Linked DNA regions of Homo sapiens: region 2 is linked to region 1. The links are contacts of gene promoters, found by promoter capture Hi-C in blood cells and fetal thymus (Javierre and others, 2016). All regions are on one chromosome and are shown on one strand. The core of a region is centred on a gene start or on the middle of the fragment in contact, and the rest is flanking DNA. Distances in the headings are between cores, read along the strand shown. Region 1 holds the start of PTPRK (protein tyrosine phosphatase receptor type K). Region 2 overlaps MTCL3 (MTCL family member 3).

Region 1 (4,507 bases), core at 1,940-4,439:
TCAAGAGATCACAGCTATACAACCCAGTGAATAAACTTTAATACTTCTTTATTCTTCTATGCCTCGGTTTCCTCAGATATGACATGGGTGTCATTTTAAGTGAGAGGTGAAACTGAAAGAATGTATGAGTTGGGATTTACAGAACGTTCTGGTTTTAAAGAGGCTCACAGTGCAGCAGTTTTACACTTTAACTGCAAAAGCTAAGAAAAAAGTCACAATAATGAAAACACTCTTACATTTTTGGTTTAAACAAAGAAAACTGAATAAGTATATGACACATCAAAGTCCCAACAATGCTCAGCCTTTCAAAATTTGCTTTTGAAGCTTACTACATTAGGAACCACATGATATCGGAAAGTAAACTGATCTTAATGAGTATGATTTGAAAGACATACTTCAGATATTTTTAAATTCTCAACATGAATTTGTCTTGGACTTTTAAAGTGGGTTTATTTAAATTTCTCAAAAGGAATAAAAGTTCACTAGTTAAAGTAAAATATAAGAAAAACCAGCAATATGGAATACACCTCCAATCTTCAATACATCTCTAATCTATGTCTGCAACAAATCTGACTGCCATAGAATTTTATGACAATAAAATATCAAATGATTTATGGTAGCCAGAAAAAAAAGGAAGTATTTACAAAACAAACTTATAATTTGTGGAGAAAGGCAAATCCACAATCTGACTTTAAACTCTGGGAATAAAAGACATTCATTTCTGGGCATACATTCCTAAAGGGCAAAATCTTGAGATGCAATCCTGTGATTACTGTACTTTTTAGGAATGCACATTATATTAATTAAATATACAACATCATGTCAAATGTTATGCTTTGTCACTAAAGAAAAGCCAGGCATATTTAGTTAAAGTACTTAGAACTAGATATCTAAGAACACAATTGTTTATTGTACGTATCTAAACTCCAGGTATCAGAAAAGCTCATTTTCACATTCAGCTGGAGGAAAAGTAGTATTTATTTGTTAATTAAAGGGTAAATAACATTTAAAAAGAGAAAAAGTTTTCTAACTGCTGAAAATATATCCATCGCTGTTGAGACATTAATAGTTGCAACTCTTGAATACATGTAAGTTTAATTATGCAACTGGTAGAGTTCAAACTTTCAATTAACAAACTACAAGCCTTTTCAAGCGTAGGCTCTCCGTGCAGTGACAAACACTGTGCAGAAATCAATACTCACTCCAACTTGCCTGCATATAATGAGTTACATCAAGCACGGTTTCAATGCTAACGGGCATTATATGTCAGAAATGCATGCAGTAATGCTTACTCCAGAAAGAATTCAATTAAACCATTGGATTATTTTTTGCATAGAGCTGTTACCCTCTGCGTACATCAATTATATACAGGGCTTTTCCTCTGCGTGCTGCCATTTCATAATCTCTGCCTGAATGTACGACACATGCTGCCACCTGAATCTGTTGTTTAACTCCCTTTACAGAGTTCTAAATGGGGCGGGGGTAGGAGAGCAATGGAAGGGAAATAAACGATTACTCCAGAAAACAACAATTTGAGTTTATTTCCAGGAAACAGGGCCTCCACAACAACGTGAGAAACTGTCAGGTACAAAGTAAGTTATTTGCGTCCTGCGGCTTCAGCCAGGAGCGTGGCTGTCGCTTTTCCCGTCTTCTCCATCACCCTCTGGCCACCACTGCGTCTCCATCTGCACCGCGAACCCCAGCAGCAGATGCGCTCGCCAGCCAAGCGAAGCTGGGTAGGTTGGCCAGAAAAGTTGTCAGGACTGGCGGGAGGTAGACAAGTGCTCGGGAGCCCGCTCCCCAGCGTCCACCTGGTGAAACTTCAGAGCCCCCAGAGGAGAGAACGAAAGAAGCAACCAACCTACACGAAGGATAACAAAACTGGAGGGGAACAGAGGGCGGGACCGGGAGAGCCAGGGTTCACGGACTTCTCTGAGCGGCTTGACCGAGAACCCCCAGGGCTACAGCGAGACGCTCCACTTGTCTCCTTTTGGGTTCTCCGGCAGAAGGCAGACATTTACAGTCCGCTTCCAGCCCCAGGCCGGATCCGGGGAGCGCGGGGCCAGAGCCCCAGGCCGGATCCGGGGAGCGCGGGGCCAGCCTGGCGGTGGTTTTGCCCGAGGAGCGGGCTCCCACGCGCGAGTCAGGCTTCCTCCACCAGGCGCCCAGACCTCGATGCCCATGAACGCTCAGAGTGGGTCCTTAGAACCGCATTTCAACACATCTTACAGGGCTCCGCCAACACACACACAGAACATGCTCCAAGCAGTGCCCGAGCGCACAGGGCAAGCCCGGGAGCAACCCAGAGCTGGGGGAGGAGAAAAGGGGACTCCGGGAGGGACGGGGAAGTAGTTAGACAATAGTCAGGGGAGGTTATTCCCGGGACAAAAAGCACCTGGCAAAGCGCGCCGAGGTCAGTCCCTTCGAATCTCCACATTTCTGACAATGGCTTCCCAGGGAATTTGTTTAAACACCCAAGTGGCAGACAGCAACAAACCCGCACCACAAGCAACAGAGTGCCGTCACGGGAGTCGTAACTACTTTTTCTTTCTCTCTTCCCCACTAGCCCGGCGCAGGCCACGCGAGACGCCGAAGCCAGCAGGTCCCCACACTCTCCGGCTAGACCGTGCCAGCCTGAGCCCCGAGCAAGCTTCGGAGAGGAACAATGGGTGCCCCGCGTCCCACCTGGCACGAACTCTGGGGACAGCCCTCCCTCTACCCTGTGTTCCCCACCCCCGGACAGAGAGAGCTCCCCACGATCCTTGTCCCCAGCCCTAGCGGGGACCTGGCTCACCCCTCGTGAGCCCAGGACTCCAGGCGTTCGTCGGGGACGCCCCCCGGCCACTCACCTGCGGAGAACTGGCCTTGGGCCGATCCCAGGAGAGGCCAAGGAGAGAGGAGCAAGAGCGCCACAAAAGCAGGCAGCGCCGCCGCCGCAGTCGTATCCATGCCGAGTTTGGGAGAAGTTTCAAGCAGCTTTGCAAAGAGCTGCCGGGGGGATCGCCGCGAAATCCACGACGGAGGAGCGGGCCGGGCCTCGCGGGGTGAGGACGGTGAGAGGACAGCCGCCCGCCCGCCCTTTTTCCTTCTTCGCGGTCGCCAAACTACCTCAGGGGCGAAAGCGTCGCCAGCGTCGCCGGCCGGCCGCGGCGGCAGCTCTCCATGCTCGGCGGAGGCTGCTCCTGTTAGTCAAGAGTTACTTTGCTCGGGGAGGGACGGGGGCGGAGCCGGGGGTGACGTCGCCCCGCGGGCTCCGGGCGCTTCTGAGGAATGCGGGCTCGGGCGCGGCGCCGCCACCGCCTCCTGCCGGAGAGACGCGCGCCAGCCCCGGCCGCGCGCCCCGCGCCGCCTTTGTTCGCAGCCTGGGCCCCGCCGCCAGCCGCTGCTCGGAGGGAGCGAGCGAGAAAGGGGAGCCGGCGCAGCTCGCTGCCCTGTTCCAGAACTCAGAATTTGAGAGGCGAGAGTTCGGTAAGCCGTGCGACCAGACGACCGAGGACGCGCGCAGAGAAACCCCCGCCGTCCGAGGAGAGGCGTCCTGGGGTTCCGTCCCAAGGTGGAGGTCCCCCCGAGCGGTTGCTGATTGAAAGGGGAGTGTGGAAGCGCCCTGAGGAAACACCCGCCTGCCTTGAAAACTCCCCGTTCCTTATTCTTGTAATAAGGAATAAGACACCCCACCCCCATCGAAAACTTGTCCCTTATTCATAGAATAAATAAAACTTGAACCAGAATAAACGATCAGTAACTTTCCAGCGTGAACAGCTGGCGTGTCTCCTTTCTGGTTTATTTGTCATTGGCCAAGTATTTGGATTTACTCTGCTTCACTGACTTTGCTTGTTGCTCTGAAACCCTCCGGCCCCTTTCCAGTTCTCACCTAAGAACTGCATCAGGGCTTATTATCCCTTCCTTGCACCTAGGTCTGGTGTGTGTGTGGTTTTGTTTTTTTTAATATCTAGTAGGTAGTTAAGACATAAGTATTTAACAAAAGGACTTTTACACTGACCATGAAAACAGCTTCTTCGGAATGATTCATCTGGCAGAAAATAATGCTATATTATGACAGTAAAATATTTCACAGTTAACTACTTCAGCAGCTTGAAGTGGTTTCGCCATATGCCACCCTGCCTTACTTCTGTGGTAAGACTGTATGGTGCATACTTTATTCATTTTTGTAAAATGTCACAAAAAATAGGTATGGTCACAATTGAATAACATAATAACTTTGATTCAGAATTTTTATGTGTTATGTACAATTGCTAAAACAATAGTCTGTTGATTGACATCTCTCAGTTTCTCAGACATCTTAGCCTTTGTAAATCAAGACAATGTGAAATTCATTTTAATATAACATTCACATAATTTACCAAGCCACATATTCTTTTAATCAAATATATGCTATTAATGACCAGACTTATGACAGAGCCTGTGGAAACAAAAATGTAATAAATATACACACAAATATATACATATATAAATACATATTATACACACATACATATCAGGCAGAAAA
Region 2 (4,283 bases), core at 588-3,087, 1.0 Mb before region 1:
GAAGTCTCACAGATACATCCTTTGCAACCTGAATTAAGGTGTTTGTAACAATAAAATATAATTAATGACAATATAATAAGGGCTAAAATTGTATTCCTATTGAAAGCATTAAAACCCAATATTTATATGGTGTTTACCATGTGCCAGGCATTATTCCACAAAGTATACATATAAGCCATTCACATATATCAATCGTTTAACCCTACAAAAATCCCATGGGATAGGTACTATTATTACTTCTATTTTGTAGATGAGGAAACTGAGTCTCAGAGAGGTCAAGGTCACACAGCTAATGAGTAGACACTGCTGGGCTAAGAGGCCTGGCAATCTGGCTCTAAATTTTGTTCCCTTAACTTCTGCACTACTCTGTGGTAAAAAATGTTCTATTGCATTTTATCACATGTAGAGAAATTTCACAAATTTCCTTTACTTCAGCAAAACTATGAGGTAGATGTTTCCATTATAATCTATGTTAAAGAATGAAAAATTGAAGTTTTTACAAGTAGTGGGTTGGGCTTGAATTTCAATCTTATAGCTTGAATTCCAGTTGCTTAATCTTAGGAAAGTTTTAGTCCTTGAGATTATTATTTTTTGAATGACTGTGCATTTTTGCCTCATATTTTGAGATTATCCTGGAAATTCTAGGGTTTGGAAGAAAAGTGGAGCAGACTGGTGTAGAGGCTTAGGACACAGGTTGTGATTTTGGACTGAGTGGAGAGTCAGCCTGGCACCTATTAGCTGTTTTCCAGGCCTGGGCACTTAACCTCTGTAAAAGGTGTAGCTTCTGCACCTATAAAATGGTGCCTTAATAATCCCTACATTGTAGGATTTTTTTTCCCTTGAGAATTAAATGAAATAATAATGTATGTAACAGTGTTTGCCACAGTGCTTAGTACATACTAAGCACTCGACAAAAGTTAAGAAAAAAAGTAATACGTCTTTCATAAAATGTTTACACATAGCTTTCTTTAAAACAAAGATTACACGTGATCTTTAAATCCCAATGAAGTTAATGCAATGAACGTATACTTATTTGGTTGTGCAAGGAGATTAAGTTAATGTCTAGTTTGCATAGTCAATGAATCTGCCTACAGTCAAACTGAACTGGAGACCACACCTGTCTAGAAAATGCACTTCAAGGTTGAGATTTTTCCACTGGAAGAAATTCTGAAGGAACAATTGCACTTTAAAAAAATGAGATTATTTCATTTACCTCACACCAAACAGGCTGCAAGTTGGTTATCTGTTTTTTTTTTCCCCCTCAGGGAGTCACCTAAGTGGCAAGTGCAGAAAGGAAGAAGTCCTGGAAGAAGGAAGTGGAGTGGACACTTGCTGAAAGAAATCTTAACTCTAGTATCTTCCCAGTGCAGTTCCTATTTTGGGTTTCAACTCCCCCAGAGGAGTCCTTTTAGTGCAGCTCCTGACTGCCCGATTCCACCGGACTTCTCTCAGTAGACAGACTGAAGGGCAGATCAAAGGCTAGAGCCTGCGCTCTGCCACGCCCTTGCTTCTGCCCAGAAGGGAGCCTTCTTCTCATCACCTCTTGAAGAGCCACCTTTGCTCCCAGGAGAGCACACTTAGCTCGTTTGCTGCCAGGCCCTCCACACACTCTGCACTCTTTAGAGCCACCTGCCAGTTCTCTCCCTTCTGAGACCCTAGTATTTTGTGGTTAGCGCTACGAAACTGTGTCCCTAAGGCTCCTTGCCAGTCGCCACTGAAGACTTCTCAGCCTAAAGAGCCCTTGGCCAAAGTCCCCACCCACCGCCCCTGCCGCGCGCCATTGAGCCCCCGCGCCGCAGACCTTGAGGTCCTGCTCCAGGCTGCGCAACAGCTCCCCGTCGATTTCCCCGGTCTGGGCGTAGCGGAGCCTTTTGCGCTCGGCTTTGCGGAGGCGGTACTGCAGGATCCGGCAGTTTTTGTTGGCTCTCTCCAACTCGTGGCGCATTTCCTGCAGTTGACAGGCATCCTCCTCGAAGAAAGTGTCCCTCATCTCGTCCATCTCGGTTCTCAGCTCATCGATCTCGTTCTGAGGCGGTGACAGGCCGCGTGTCAAAATCAAACTCGCTTCCAGCCCTTCCGACACACACCGTACACACCCCATTCCAATTCCAAATTCTCAGCTTTAATTGCCCTCTCTCTCCACGAGACAGGAGTGACAAGGAGCTGAGTACAGAAGAGGAAACTGGGGGAAAAAGGCCCACTTTAGGCCCTCTCTCGTTCTCTTACTCTACCTCTCTCCAGGAAGAAGTGTGACAAACCATTATAATTAGAGAAACGGAGGCCCAGATTTGAATTTAAATGAAAACCTCGCGTTACTGAGAGCAGATTCAAATTCCGGCAAGGCCTAGGAAACCCCCTCCCTCCTTTCTTGTTCTCCTCCCTCTTCAAGGCTCCCTAACAGGTTAGCAGCCTCTGATCCCTGCCGGTACACGCCCTAATCCTCCCAGGCCCACTCTTCCCATCCCCCAGCCGGGTCCCCCCACCCTCCTCACCTTGAGAGTCTCGTTTTCCTCTCGCAGCTTCTCCATCTCCTCTTGCATTTCTTCCTGCTCTTGGAGCTGCTGCGGGTGCGGCTGCGACGAAGGGGGCGCTGCCGCCTGCATGCCCCCGCCGCTCGCGCTGCCCTCTGCGCTCTGCTGGGGGCCCTCCGCCGCCGCCGCCATTGGGGAGGCGGAGGCGACGGCCAGGGTCTCGCAAACGGCAGGGGGGCCAGACACCGGGGAGCTGCGGCTACTGCTGCCGCCGCCGTTCTTAGCGTGCATCTGAGCCGCGGCCGCCGCCGCTGCCGCCCGCTCCTTCTTGAGATGGAACTGGATGAGCTCAGACTGCAGACATCCTTCTTTCCAGTAGCTCCCTCCACCACCGCTGCCGCCCCCCGCAACGCCGCTTCCGGAGTTTCTGCTGCCGGTTCCTGGGGTTTTGCCCGCAGAAGAGGAGGATGGAGAAGGGGAGGCCCCCTCCCCGCCGCTGCCGCCCCTCTGCTGAGCGCGTACGCCTTTCCCTCGCCAGCCCCTGGGCGGCGGCGGCTGCGGAGCGCCCCCCTCCCTTTCCCCGGAGCCGCCGCCGGCTCCTCCTCCTTCCCCGCCCCCTCCTCCCCCTTCTCCGAGCGGAGGGGGTTCCCCGAGTTTCGAGGGCACGGACTCTAGCTCCCGAGGCGGCTCCTCGGGCGGTCCGGGCCTCCTGCCGCCCAAAGCGGCCAGGGTCGCGGCGGGGGCCGCTTCAGCACCAGCCACAGGCTGGACAGCTCCCGGAGCGGCCCCTTTGGGCGCCAGGGGCGTCGCCTTCTCGGCCCCACCTCCGCCTCCTCGGATGCTGGCGGGCGGCCCCGTGCGGCTCCCGGTCTTGTTACCCTGCTGTTGCTGCTGCTGCAGCTGCTGCTGCCGAACAGAATTGAGTTTAGTGCCGGCCCCCACTGGGGACCGGGTGGCCGCGATTGTCTGTCGCAGCGAACTGTCCCTCGGTCTAGCGGGTGACTGAGCTCGCTGCTGCTTTCTGCTGCTGCCCTCCGGGTGCAGACGAGCCTCAGTGGCTGCAGCGGCGGGAGAAGCTGCTGCTGTGGCAGGGGCAGCGCCCCCGATTGGTGGCTGACTCATGGCTATGAACCTACCAGATGCGATTTGGAAGAGCCCATTACTAGATCATCCTCTTCCCTCTTCACCGCCGCCAACCTTCCTTCCTAAGCTGGGACAGAAACAAAAGGAGAGAAGAAGACAACATGTCTGAATTTTTGCAGAGCAAAGGGTGATATTGCTCCATTTGGATGGCGCTTAATAGAAGCTTTGACTTTAGGAATAGGATGCAGGGCTGTCTTTAGGAATAGGATGGAGGGCTGTCAATTCTCATTTTGCCCAGGGTGGCGCTGTCTCCATCTCACTCCACCTCAGCAAAATGACGGATCTGAAAGCAGCTGAACCTTACATTCTCATGGTAGCAGGCTTTGGAAAGGGTGAGATACAGAGTCAGACAGGAATTGATGGAAAGGGAGATATAAAAGAAAAGAGGATAAAGTGGAAAAGAAGCTTCAGAAAGAAAAGATATCCATATATTAGAGTTGTCAACTCTGCTTTTACAACTTTGGCTTTCCTTACCATCAAATCCATATGTAAAGCCTAGTTTACTGGAGAAAGTTTTCATTTAATTAGTATTCCCAAGTTCAATTAGAGGAAAAGGGTTATGATGTAGGGTTCCTAGAGAATATTTTCTACGGATAAATGACACTTTCCCCAGGCAGCTCCAACCCTTAATGTTGTTTTTGGGAAAATGCACCCAACTTCCTTTATAAT

Evidence for each region. Contacts are between HindIII fragments. The CHiCAGO score rates a contact against its expected background, and 5 or more counts as called.
Region 2: a contact is called between a fragment that was not itself captured here and the fragment with the promoter of PTPRK in region 1, in 2 of 17 cell types (fetal thymus and total CD4 T cells). The highest score is 8.1, in fetal thymus.

Annotation. Positions count from the first base shown.
Region 1 is chr6:128,517,410-128,521,916 of GRCh38, forward strand. PTPRK (protein tyrosine phosphatase receptor type K) reads right to left here and starts at 3,190. Exons shown (of 30, transcript NM_002844.4): 1 at 2,850-3,190. The coding sequence starts at 2,949. RefSeq lists enhancers at 2,364-2,957, 2,958-3,552. The HindIII fragment of the contact is 3,706 bases long and covers 2,649-4,507 here.
Region 2 is chr6:127,513,022-127,517,304 of GRCh38, forward strand. It overlaps MTCL3 (MTCL family member 3), which reads right to left. Exons shown (of 7, transcript NM_001400265.1): 2 at 2,493-3,681; 3 at 1,802-2,026; 4 at 1-28. The coding sequence starts at 3,593. It overlaps SOGA3-KIAA0408 (SOGA3-KIAA0408 readthrough), which reads right to left. Exons shown (of 13, transcript NR_174482.1): 2 at 2,493-3,681; 3 at 1,802-2,026; 4 at 1-28. LOC107986642 (a long non-coding RNA gene) reads left to right here. Exons shown (of 2, transcript XR_001744337.2): 2 at 1,266-2,279. Among named protein-coding and RNA genes, the nearest start is that of MTCL3, 4.2 kb to the right of the region's middle. RefSeq lists an enhancer at 1,786-2,310 and a silencer at 2,998-3,227. The HindIII fragment of the contact is 3,876 bases long and covers 1-3,775 here.